Regions from separate parts of the Homo sapiens genome. Here region 1 is linked to region 2. Evidence: promoter capture Hi-C in human tissues and cell types (Jung and others, 2019). All regions are on one chromosome and are shown on one strand. The core of a region is centred on a gene start or on the middle of the fragment in contact, and the rest is flanking DNA. Distances in the headings are between cores, read along the strand shown.

The links. The method cuts DNA at HindIII sites, captures the fragments that hold promoters and counts their contacts. A contact is called where the count stands out against the background at its distance.
Region 1: a fragment that was not itself captured here is called in contact with the fragment with the promoter of OPRK1 in region 2 in 1 of the 25 tissues and cell types used here (H1 embryonic stem cells).

The regions. Positions count from the first base shown.
Region 1 is chr8:53,860,261-53,865,117 of GRCh38, reverse strand. It overlaps a transcript of RGS20 not described here. Among named protein-coding and RNA genes, the nearest start is that of RGS20, 18 kb to the left of the region's middle. The HindIII fragment of the contact is 5,706 bases long and covers 1-4,498 here.
Region 2 is chr8:53,248,312-53,253,057 of GRCh38, reverse strand. OPRK1 (opioid receptor kappa 1) reads left to right here and starts at 1,421. Exons shown (of 4, transcript NM_000912.5): 1 at 1,421-1,610; 2 at 1,973-2,277. The coding sequence starts at 2,021. The HindIII fragment of the contact is 8,793 bases long and covers 1-2,406 here.

The DNA of each region.
Region 1 (4,857 bases), core at 396-2,895, 610 kb before region 2:
TGGGCTTTATAGCTTTTCCAGTGGTTCCTAATAAACCAGGCTTTGTGTGAGCCTCGTTCAGGCCATGCGGGGCCCTGTCGTTCTAAGGCTTTCTCCCTCCTCTGGCCTGGCTGCTGGGAGAACTTGTTAGCGGGCATTGATTTCTTTGAGTTGGACGCGACTGAATTAGACTGCTTTGCTTGGCATTTTAAAGGGGATGTTTTCTTGGGGAAGTTGGAGGTTGGCACTGCCTTGATATGAAACATTTTAGGGGCCATTCAGAATTCTTAACTGTCATTAATTTCTTTCAGGGCATATGAAACATTTGTCTGAAGAAAGATTTTAACAATTTCAGTTTGAAGACATCAAGAAATACCATATGATCTCTGACCTTAATCAGATGAAATCTTGTTTCATCCACATGGTGGAAAAAAATTAGGGAAATAATGCATTTCTATATCTACTAATCAACTGGCCAATCAATATTAACTGGGCTCTTACTCTGTGCCCACTATGTACGAGGTCCATCTGCAGATGGAGATAACTAGATTAACAACTATTATGGGAGAAACTGGCTACAAACCCAGCCCATAGGATTCCAAGGGGTTCCCGGGAGGCAGCACAGGGCTAATGGAAAGCTGGACTCACCGATGCAGGCTTTTAAAAGAAAAACTCAAAGTATCTGAGTTTTTTTTTTTTTTTTTTTTTCATGGAGTCTTGCTCTATCGCCAGGCTGGAGTGCAATGGCACAATCTCAGCTCACTGCAACCTCCAACTCCTGGGTTCAAGCTATTCTCCTGCCTCAGCCTCCCGAGTAGCTGGGATTACAGGCACCCGCCATCATGCCCAGCTGATTTTTTTTTTGTATTTTTGTAGAGACGGGGTTTCACCATGTTGGCCAGGCTGGTCTTGAACTCCTGATCGACCTCAAGTGATCCACCTGCCTTGGCCTCCCAAAGTGCTGGGATTACAGGTGTGAGCCACCATGATCTGAGTTTTTTAAAAAAGCCCATGTCTTTATAGTTTACCAGCATTTTTACATGCCTTGTCTCATTTGATTTTTTCAAAGCAACCATTCAAATTGAATGTGAAAAGTATTATTGTCTTGATTTTATAGAAGATAAAATGTCATGCCTGTAATCCCACCACTTTGGGAGGCCGAGGAAGGCAGATCACGAGGTCAGGAGATTGAGACCATCCTGGCTAACATGGTGAAACCCTGTCTCTACTAAAAATACATACAAATTAGCTGGGTGTGGTGGCATGAGCCTGTAGTCCCAGGTACTTGGGAGGCTGAGACAGGAGAATTGCTTGAACCGGGGAAGCAGAGGTTGCAGTGAGCCGAGTTGGCGCCATTGCACTCCAGCCTGGGTGGCAAAGTGAGACTCTGCCAAAAAAAAAAAAAAAAAAAGATAAAACAAAGACTCAGAGAATGAAATACAACTTAGACCTGAATTCAAAAACCAATTCTTGGCATTTCAAAGACATTGCCCTTTATGTCATCATCTTGCTTGGTGGCAGGGTGTACCTGTGTCAGCCAAAAGGGTGATATCACTGAGCTTTTCACTTGGTAAAAAAGGACATCTTCAAGTACTCAGACTTCAGTTAGTTACAACTGAGCCTCAAGTCGCACTGGTTCGAAGTGCTGCAGTGCTTGGATTTCCACCAGATGTCACCATTTGCCATTGTTCTACTCCCTGCCTTTAAAAAGCATTAGCAAAGAAGAGCCCATCTGCTCTTGGGCCCCTGAGAATGCTTATTGCATCTGGGAGTGAGGTGGAGGGCTGTATTCCAAGAAGGGAGCAATGAGCTCTGAATCTTGACTCAGGGAGAAGGAATTTGAAAATGTCATGGCCGGGCGCTGTGGCTCGCACCTGTAATCCCAACACTTTGGGAGGCCGAGGCGGGCGGATCACCTGAGGTCCGGAGTTTGAGACCAGCCTGACCAACATGGAGAGACCCCGTCTCTACTAAAAATACAAAATTAGCCGGGCATGGTGGCACATGCCTGTAATCCCAGCTACTCGGGAGGCTGAGGCAGGAGAATCCCTTGAACTGGGAGGCAGAGGTTGCGGTGAGCCGAGATCGTGCCATTGTACTCCAGCCTGAGAAACAAGAGCGAAACTCCATCTCAAAAACAAAAGAAAAGAAAAGAAAAGAAAATGTCATGAGCTCTCTGGTTCCCGATTTCCTAAAACCCAAAGGCATTATTTCCCCCTCCCCTTGTGATTTCGTGTATCTAAAAACCCAGCCCATTTCTGATGGATAAACCAAGCAGAACTATAACCTGGCTTTTGGCCAAAACAACTTAGAAAAGGAGGAGATTTTCTTTTCTTTTTAGAGATAGGGTCTCACTCCATCACTCAGGCTGGAGTGTAGTGGCATGATCATAGCTCACTGCAGTCTCTAACTCCTGGGCTCAAGCAATCCTCATGCCTCAGCCTCCTGAGTAGCTAGGACTTAGGGGCATGTGCCACTCACCCAGCTAATTTTTAAATTTTCTTGTGGAGACTGGATCTCTCTTTGTTGTCCAGGCTGGCCCCAAACTACTGGCCTCCTAAAGTGCTGGCATTACAGGGATGAGCCACCATGCCTAGCCCTCCAGCTAATTTTTTATAAAGCAGGAGGTTTTGAAGTGAAGACAGAACCAAGGAACGCTGCACCTTCTCTGTGATCAGAAGTAGAAGCCAGCAGGATTTGCATCACGCTGGAGTGTGGTTTCTGAGGAGGGGCTGGAAGTAGCCCTGAACCCCAAGTCTCCCACCTGCTCAGATTTTATATGGTCCAAATTACACTACTCAGGTTCATTCTTGTGGATCTAATATGAGTGTTCCCTGTAGATTTCATGAGCAGGAGTGATGTATGAATTCATTTACATCTAAGTGCATTTGAATTTGAACTTTTGTTTCTTTTTTTAAAGGGAGAAACTAGGCCAGAATGAGAGAATGAGGTTCCTAGGGTATGTCTGTGGATGTTGGCGAAGAGTCCAAGGTGAGGGGTGGGTGAGAGAGAGGGGAGGCAAACTTCTCTTAACTTCTAGTTTGGTCCAGGCTAACGACCAGGGGCCTGAGGGACCCTCCTTTGCCTCCTGTTCCTCACACCCTCCTCACCTTCACTCTGCTTATCTTCAGGGTAGCAAAGAATCCATGTGGGGCAATGGTTGGCCCCCCCAAAGCTTGGACTCCCCACGGGCCAACAAATGATGGGAGATGTGTGGCTTCTCCAAAACTGCAGCTCTGGGAAAGGGGAAGCTTAGAGATCTTAATGATGCTAATAAGTTGGTAAAAATAATCAGGTGCAGGTATTTTTAAGACAAGGCAAAAACAGAAAAAAGGAAGCAATAGTACCTGGATTTTATTTGCTGATCATAAGCTTACTTTTTAATCCAGCAAACTTGTTCTTCAACAAAACTGTCTGTAAAATTAATTGCATGTCCTCCTGATACGATGTTGATGGTAATAATACTTTCTCTTCAAATGAAAACTTCAAAAATATATCCTTCAGAACATGATCCTCTGGGCAAATGGTCACAGATGAAAGCCTTAAATACAACTCACAGAAGCAGAGACAGCAGATTTATTACAGAATTCGGAAATGCAGTGTGACATTGGTAGTATCAACTGCTTTGATCATTTCTTTCAAGTAATGTTTTATTCATTTCATTTGGTCATATTTTGCTCAACTATTTTTATGTAACTTCACACAATCTATATATTTTGTTGATAACTTACAGGTAAAAATATTCATTTATTAGTGTGGGTGTTTATCCGATGACCCACACTGGGTCACGCTGACTCAAGAGAGGACAGAGGGTCACACAAGAACTTCACAGCTTGTGTCCCCTAGGGGCTGAGGGTCTGCTGACTCTAGTTTTGTGGGGCTTATCCACAGATACTTTGCAGAATGTCTGGTGGTGGGAATAGGAGATAAACAGAGAAGATGTGTAGAATTATCTCTGAGGCGTGATTACAAAGCTTGTGGGTGATAGATATAAAAATGCCAGGCCTCAAATATCTAAATCAGGGCTGTCTACTTCAGGTGTCATCGTTGATTTTGGAATCCCATAAGTTGGTTTAAAGTTGCAATCACTCAAAATATGTGCTGGACAACCCCTTAAGATTGTCTTACAACCTAAAGAACAGCTAGGGCTGATTGATCTTTTTTTTTTTTTGGAGACAGGGTCTCACTCTGTTGCCCAGGCTAGAGTGCAGTGGTGTGATCTTGGCTCACTGTAGCCTCTGCCTCCTGGGTTCAGGCAATTCTCCTGCCTCAGCCTCCTGAGTAGCTGGGATTACAGGCATGTGCCACCACACCCAGCTAATTTTTGTATTTTTTAGTAGAGATGGGGTTTCACCATGTTGGCCAGGCTGGGCTCGAACTCCTGACGTCAAGTGATCCACCTGTCTTGGCCTCCCAGAGTGCTGGGATTAGAGGTGTGACCCACTGCGCTCAGCAGGGCTGATGGATCTTGAGACAGAGACCACATCTATACTGGGCCAGATCCTCTCTCCTGGGAATTTGGAATGAGAACATGGAGCCACAGCTATTAGAGGCAGTTTGCTGGTGTTAAACTATCTTCCACAGATTCCTGGTCTGAGGTTCCTGGGCTGCTAGCCTCCTGCCTCCTTGCTATTTCCTTTTGTCTTCTAGTCATATGCAATTTGAACAGACAGTTACAAAAACGTGTTGAGACAATGTCTTGCATATTTTAGTTCATTTCCAGTCTTATTTTGAATAAAAGTTCTTAGAATGATCTATCACTTGAATATAAATCCTTACAATTTTTAGTGTTGAGAATTCGAAATCATATAAGCCAAATATAGTCTTATGGGAAAACATATTTGGTTACATAGTTGATGTCAAATCAAATTACTTTTG
Region 2 (4,746 bases), core at 172-2,671:
AAAGGTAAGAGTGCTCAAATGAAATAAAACTACTGAGGCCCTTATGAGGTCTCAGCAGGTCTGATGTGTTACTGAAGGAGATGTGATCCTTCAATGACAGTTTGCAATCAGACTTAAAAGAACTCTAAGACTTGATAATAATTTTCAAAATTATTTGAAAGGGTTGAAGGGATATGGTTGAACAAAGGGAAGATTTCCTTATGCTCTTCATATTACACTGCTCAAAAGAGTTGTTCATCTCCAGGCGGCAAGACGCTGGTGGTCAAATCCCACTTTGGGGTCATGGCGTCTTGAAAGAGACAGGAACCCCCTTCTGCCCTCCGCTGATGGAGGGAAGGGCTGTATCAGTCATTAGTGTGTCCAGGTGTGGCATGGACATTAGCTGTGGGATGCAGTGGGGACCTGTGTTTGTCAGCCTGAGGCAGTGAATCCACTGGGGAAATTGAGGTGCCTAAACCCCCAGTCTCCCCCAGGCCTGTCTCCAGTACCCTGTGGAGAAGGGGAACTTCCCCACTCCCTTTCAGAACCTTCACCTCAGGGGCTGAGCCCTTGCTCCCTTTGTGTCTTGCCGGTCCCTTTGCCTGAGAAGAGAATGTCTCTCACTCAGCAGGATCTGACAGCTACCCTTGGACTAGCAGAGTTTTGCAAAGAAATGATGGTGACAGTTTATTTACGGACGCTCAGATTCGCGGCCGTATAATGGAGGCAGCCCTACTGTGAGGGAGAAGTGAGGAGAACGTGATGGCTGCAGGGATTAATGTAAAACAGAGACACTGTCACCTCCCTGGAGCACCACTGAGGCCCGGGTAAGGAGAGTGTTTTGCCCTTCTCAGATACTATCAGCAATTCAGGTAATACCCGTAAGGTGCAGTTTGTCTGCAGCCTGTCATCCCAGTTAGAGCAGACGGAATGGAAGAGAACGCAAGGAAATATTCTATTTATGTGTCTTTTAAGTCATTATTTTATGAACTGGTCTTATTCTAACTGGATCATTTTGTTACTTTCTTTGGATGGGCCATTCTAATAAGCGTAGTTCCTGACTGCGAACTATGCAGATAAGAAGTTCTAGACACAATATGAAAATCCAGGTGCATACTTGCACTAAATAGGCATGCTCCTCCTTTTTACTAAATCTAAATGGCTCAGTCTCAGGTCTTGGGGAAGGCTGCATGGCCGGGGACCAGGCGGTGTGCCGCTCGGGCAGTTAGTGGGCCGGGCGAGCCTGCGGGGCTGGAGGGGACGCGGGGCTGGGAGGCTGGGGAGCTGGGGGCTGACTCCGGGCGGGCGGGGCGGGGCAGGGACCTGCCGGCCTGGGGCGGGCGCACCAGACGAGCTCTCCGCCCGCAGGCCCCCAGCGCCCAGCCGCGTCCCGGCTGCGTCCCGCCGGTCCCGCCCCGCCCCGCCCCGCAGAGCCGCCGCCAGTAGTGGGAGACGTGCGCTGAGAGGCGGGGGCTGCGCTCGGCGGAACAGCAGCCCTCGGGCGGAGAGCGGGGCCGGGGTCCGAGAGCAGGTGATGCCAAGAGCTGAGCGGGACTCGTGAGCGCGCGGTTCAGCACCTACCAGGGCGTCCCGTAAAAAACCTCGCCTTCGCCTGTCTCTGGGAACCATAGGTAAGCTTTGGGCTTTCGAGGTGCAGTTCTAGGTAGAGCTCCGTGCTGGGAGGTGGGAAGGGGGCTTGACCCTGGGGACTCAGGCAGTCTGGGGACAGTTCCACCAGGGGCCGGTGCCTAGAATTGGTGAGGGAGGCACCTCAGGGGCTGGGGGAGAAGGAGCGAGCGCTCTTCGCCCCTCTCTGGCACCCAGCGGCGCGCCTGCTGGCCGGAAAGGCAGCGAGAAGTCCGTTCTCCCTGTCCTGCCCCCGGCGACTTGCGGCCCGGGTGGGAGTCCGCAGGCTCCGGGTCCCCAGCGCCGCTGGCCAGGGCGCGGGCAAAGTTTGCCTCTCCGCGTCCAGCCGGTTCTTTCGCTCCCGCAGCGCCGCAGGTGCCGCCTGTCCTCGCCTTCCTGCTGCAATCGCCCCACCATGGACTCCCCGATCCAGATCTTCCGCGGGGAGCCGGGCCCTACCTGCGCCCCGAGCGCCTGCCTGCCCCCCAACAGCAGCGCCTGGTTTCCCGGCTGGGCCGAGCCCGACAGCAACGGCAGCGCCGGCTCGGAGGACGCGCAGCTGGAGCCCGCGCACATCTCCCCGGCCATCCCGGTCATCATCACGGCGGTCTACTCCGTAGTGTTCGTCGTGGGCTTGGTGGGCAACTCGCTGGTCATGTTCGTGATCATCCGGTGAGCGCGGGGACAGCGCAGCGCTGGGGGCTGGGCGGGGCAGGGAGTGAGGGTCAGGCCCCGCCACTGGAGCAGCAGTGGGGGCAGCCAGCCAGGTGGTGGGGACTCTGTTCCGTGAAGGATCCTGGAAATGCTACAGGGTGGCTTCCTAGAAGAGGTGAAGGATTTTCTGGGAGTTTTTGGTGGAGTGCTGAGAGGTTCACACAGGCGAATCCGAGCGGCCAGGGGCGTCTGGAAGATTTCAGAGTAACCCCCCGACCCCACCCTAGGGCCCAGTGTTTCTGCTGAAAACTCTATGCGCAGGGCAAGGTGCCAGGGTGCTGACAACAGGGTCAGGGGTTCCTGGTAAAGGAACTAATCCATTTGCCTGCGCCAGTTTGGAGCACTTTGTTATGCCCTTTGCAAATATTTCTTAAGATAAATTTCAAGCCCACCCAATGCACTGAAGATAATTCCGAATTTCCTGGGACTCCTCAGACTGGTGTTTTGGCTTATGAAACAAAACCTGATATATGCTCTAGCGTTGTTGATATGCATATATGAGCCTTTTTAGTATCAAATGGCATCCCATTTGTTAGGAATATCAGTAAATAATATTTATCCTCTAAAACATGGCCTGTGGAGATTTTCAAAAACTACTTCGCTGTTTTTTTCACCATGAGAAATTGAAGGTTTTATTTGTGTGTGTGTGTGTGTGTGTGTGTGTGTGTGGAAATTTCTTCAAGTCAACTTCCAATAATAAGTATCCCAATATCCACATATATGCTAATTTTTTGGTAAGCAAAGTGATTCTGACTTTAAGAAAGAAAAACAAGAAAAGGAAAACCTAACTTTGTTCTGCACTTTTCTTAAGATAGATGTGTTTCCTTTTCTGGGAGCACTAGAGCTTTGTCAACACACCTGTGAGAGGGAGTAGGAAGCTTGTGTTCCTTTGAGAAGTCTCTATGAAATAAGGGCGGGATGCAAGTCACCCTGGCTAGGGACTCTGAAACGATGAATAGCTGATTTTTTTTAAGCTTGATTTTAGTTTTGAAACAGGCCATTTATTTATTATGAACTTTAACAACCATATCATGAATGGTAGCATAAATGTTTCTCTTGGAAAATTATCATAATAAAATACTGCTTTATTTTTATTTTTACTTTTTTGCTTGAGAATGTCAGGTCTTTTATTCCTATGTATGCTCTGACATTAAAAACCATCATTTAAGTCGCCAAACACATATTATAAAGCTCATTTCATCAACAACTAGTGTTTATAGCTTGGTGCCCTTGGTTTTCATAATTGCCTATTGCATTTCGCAGGAATTCTATCCATGATGAGTAAAGGTTATAGAAGGAAGGAATATTTTAAAATTAAATTGTTTGTCCAAGTCATTAGTAATCTCAGGGCTGGCCTCCACTAAAGAGACAATTAGACAAAAGAAAAGACAACTGTATTCTAAATTTTAATTAAAAATTTTAGGAGATCTTTGGTACAGAAGCTATTTATTTGGTGGTGGGGTAATAGAAACATTGTTAAGCAAAAGAAAGCTCTAGGAAAAAAAATAGCTCTGTTTCTACCCATATCATATTTAGGTGCTCAAGTAAAACAGATACATATTGTTATTTGAATGAGCCCCTGAAGTCTGCAGTTTGAAAAGAGCTTTGTAGTTGCTCTACAACCTTTTGCAGACTAGGATTAAAAAGAATGAAGAATCCTAAAATAACATTTAGATGTTATGTGCAAATATAACTCCATGGGGAACATTTGACATGTAAGAAGGAAAAAAAAATCCTGTAGATTAGCTAGGATTTTTAATGGATAGATTTCCCAAATATATCCAACACTAAAGTGTGTTATAAGGGGATAAGTTCAGCTAAAAATATAAAAGAAGTTGGATAGTTCACATACATCATTCTCCATTCTCCCACCTCCCAATACTTAAAGGTTACGTTTGATGATGAATGAAAAGCGAAGAGTTCTACTGCCATCCTGGAGTACCAACCTACTGAAATCTATCTAGTTCACTTATGGCTAGAGCACATACATTTTAAGGTCTTCACAAGTAAAAGGTTAATGTCTAGTGAACCTAGTTCACTCAAGTCTATAGCTAAGAAGGAAAAGGAGTATTTAGTATTATTTCATAATGATAGATGGTTCAAGGATTGAAAAATAAAACCTTTGAAGAAGAATTGATGTACTTGGGTTTATTTATCTTAGGAAATGAAGAGACTGAAGATCAGAGAGAGGGTGGCATGAAGTGGGTTGCGTTGTGATCATCAGGCCTGAGTGCAGAACCAGGGTGTGGAGGCCCCATAGCCCTTGTTACTGAAGAGACTGAGTAGCTGTGCTTGAAAGATGAAGGATACTATTTTATATGTTTTACATGGGAAAGGCTCCTAGCATAGTTCAACCTTATAGAAAATCATTGTAGAAATGGAACTTAGATGCTCAGAGTGTGGGCAGGTGCAGATCTAGACTGTTCA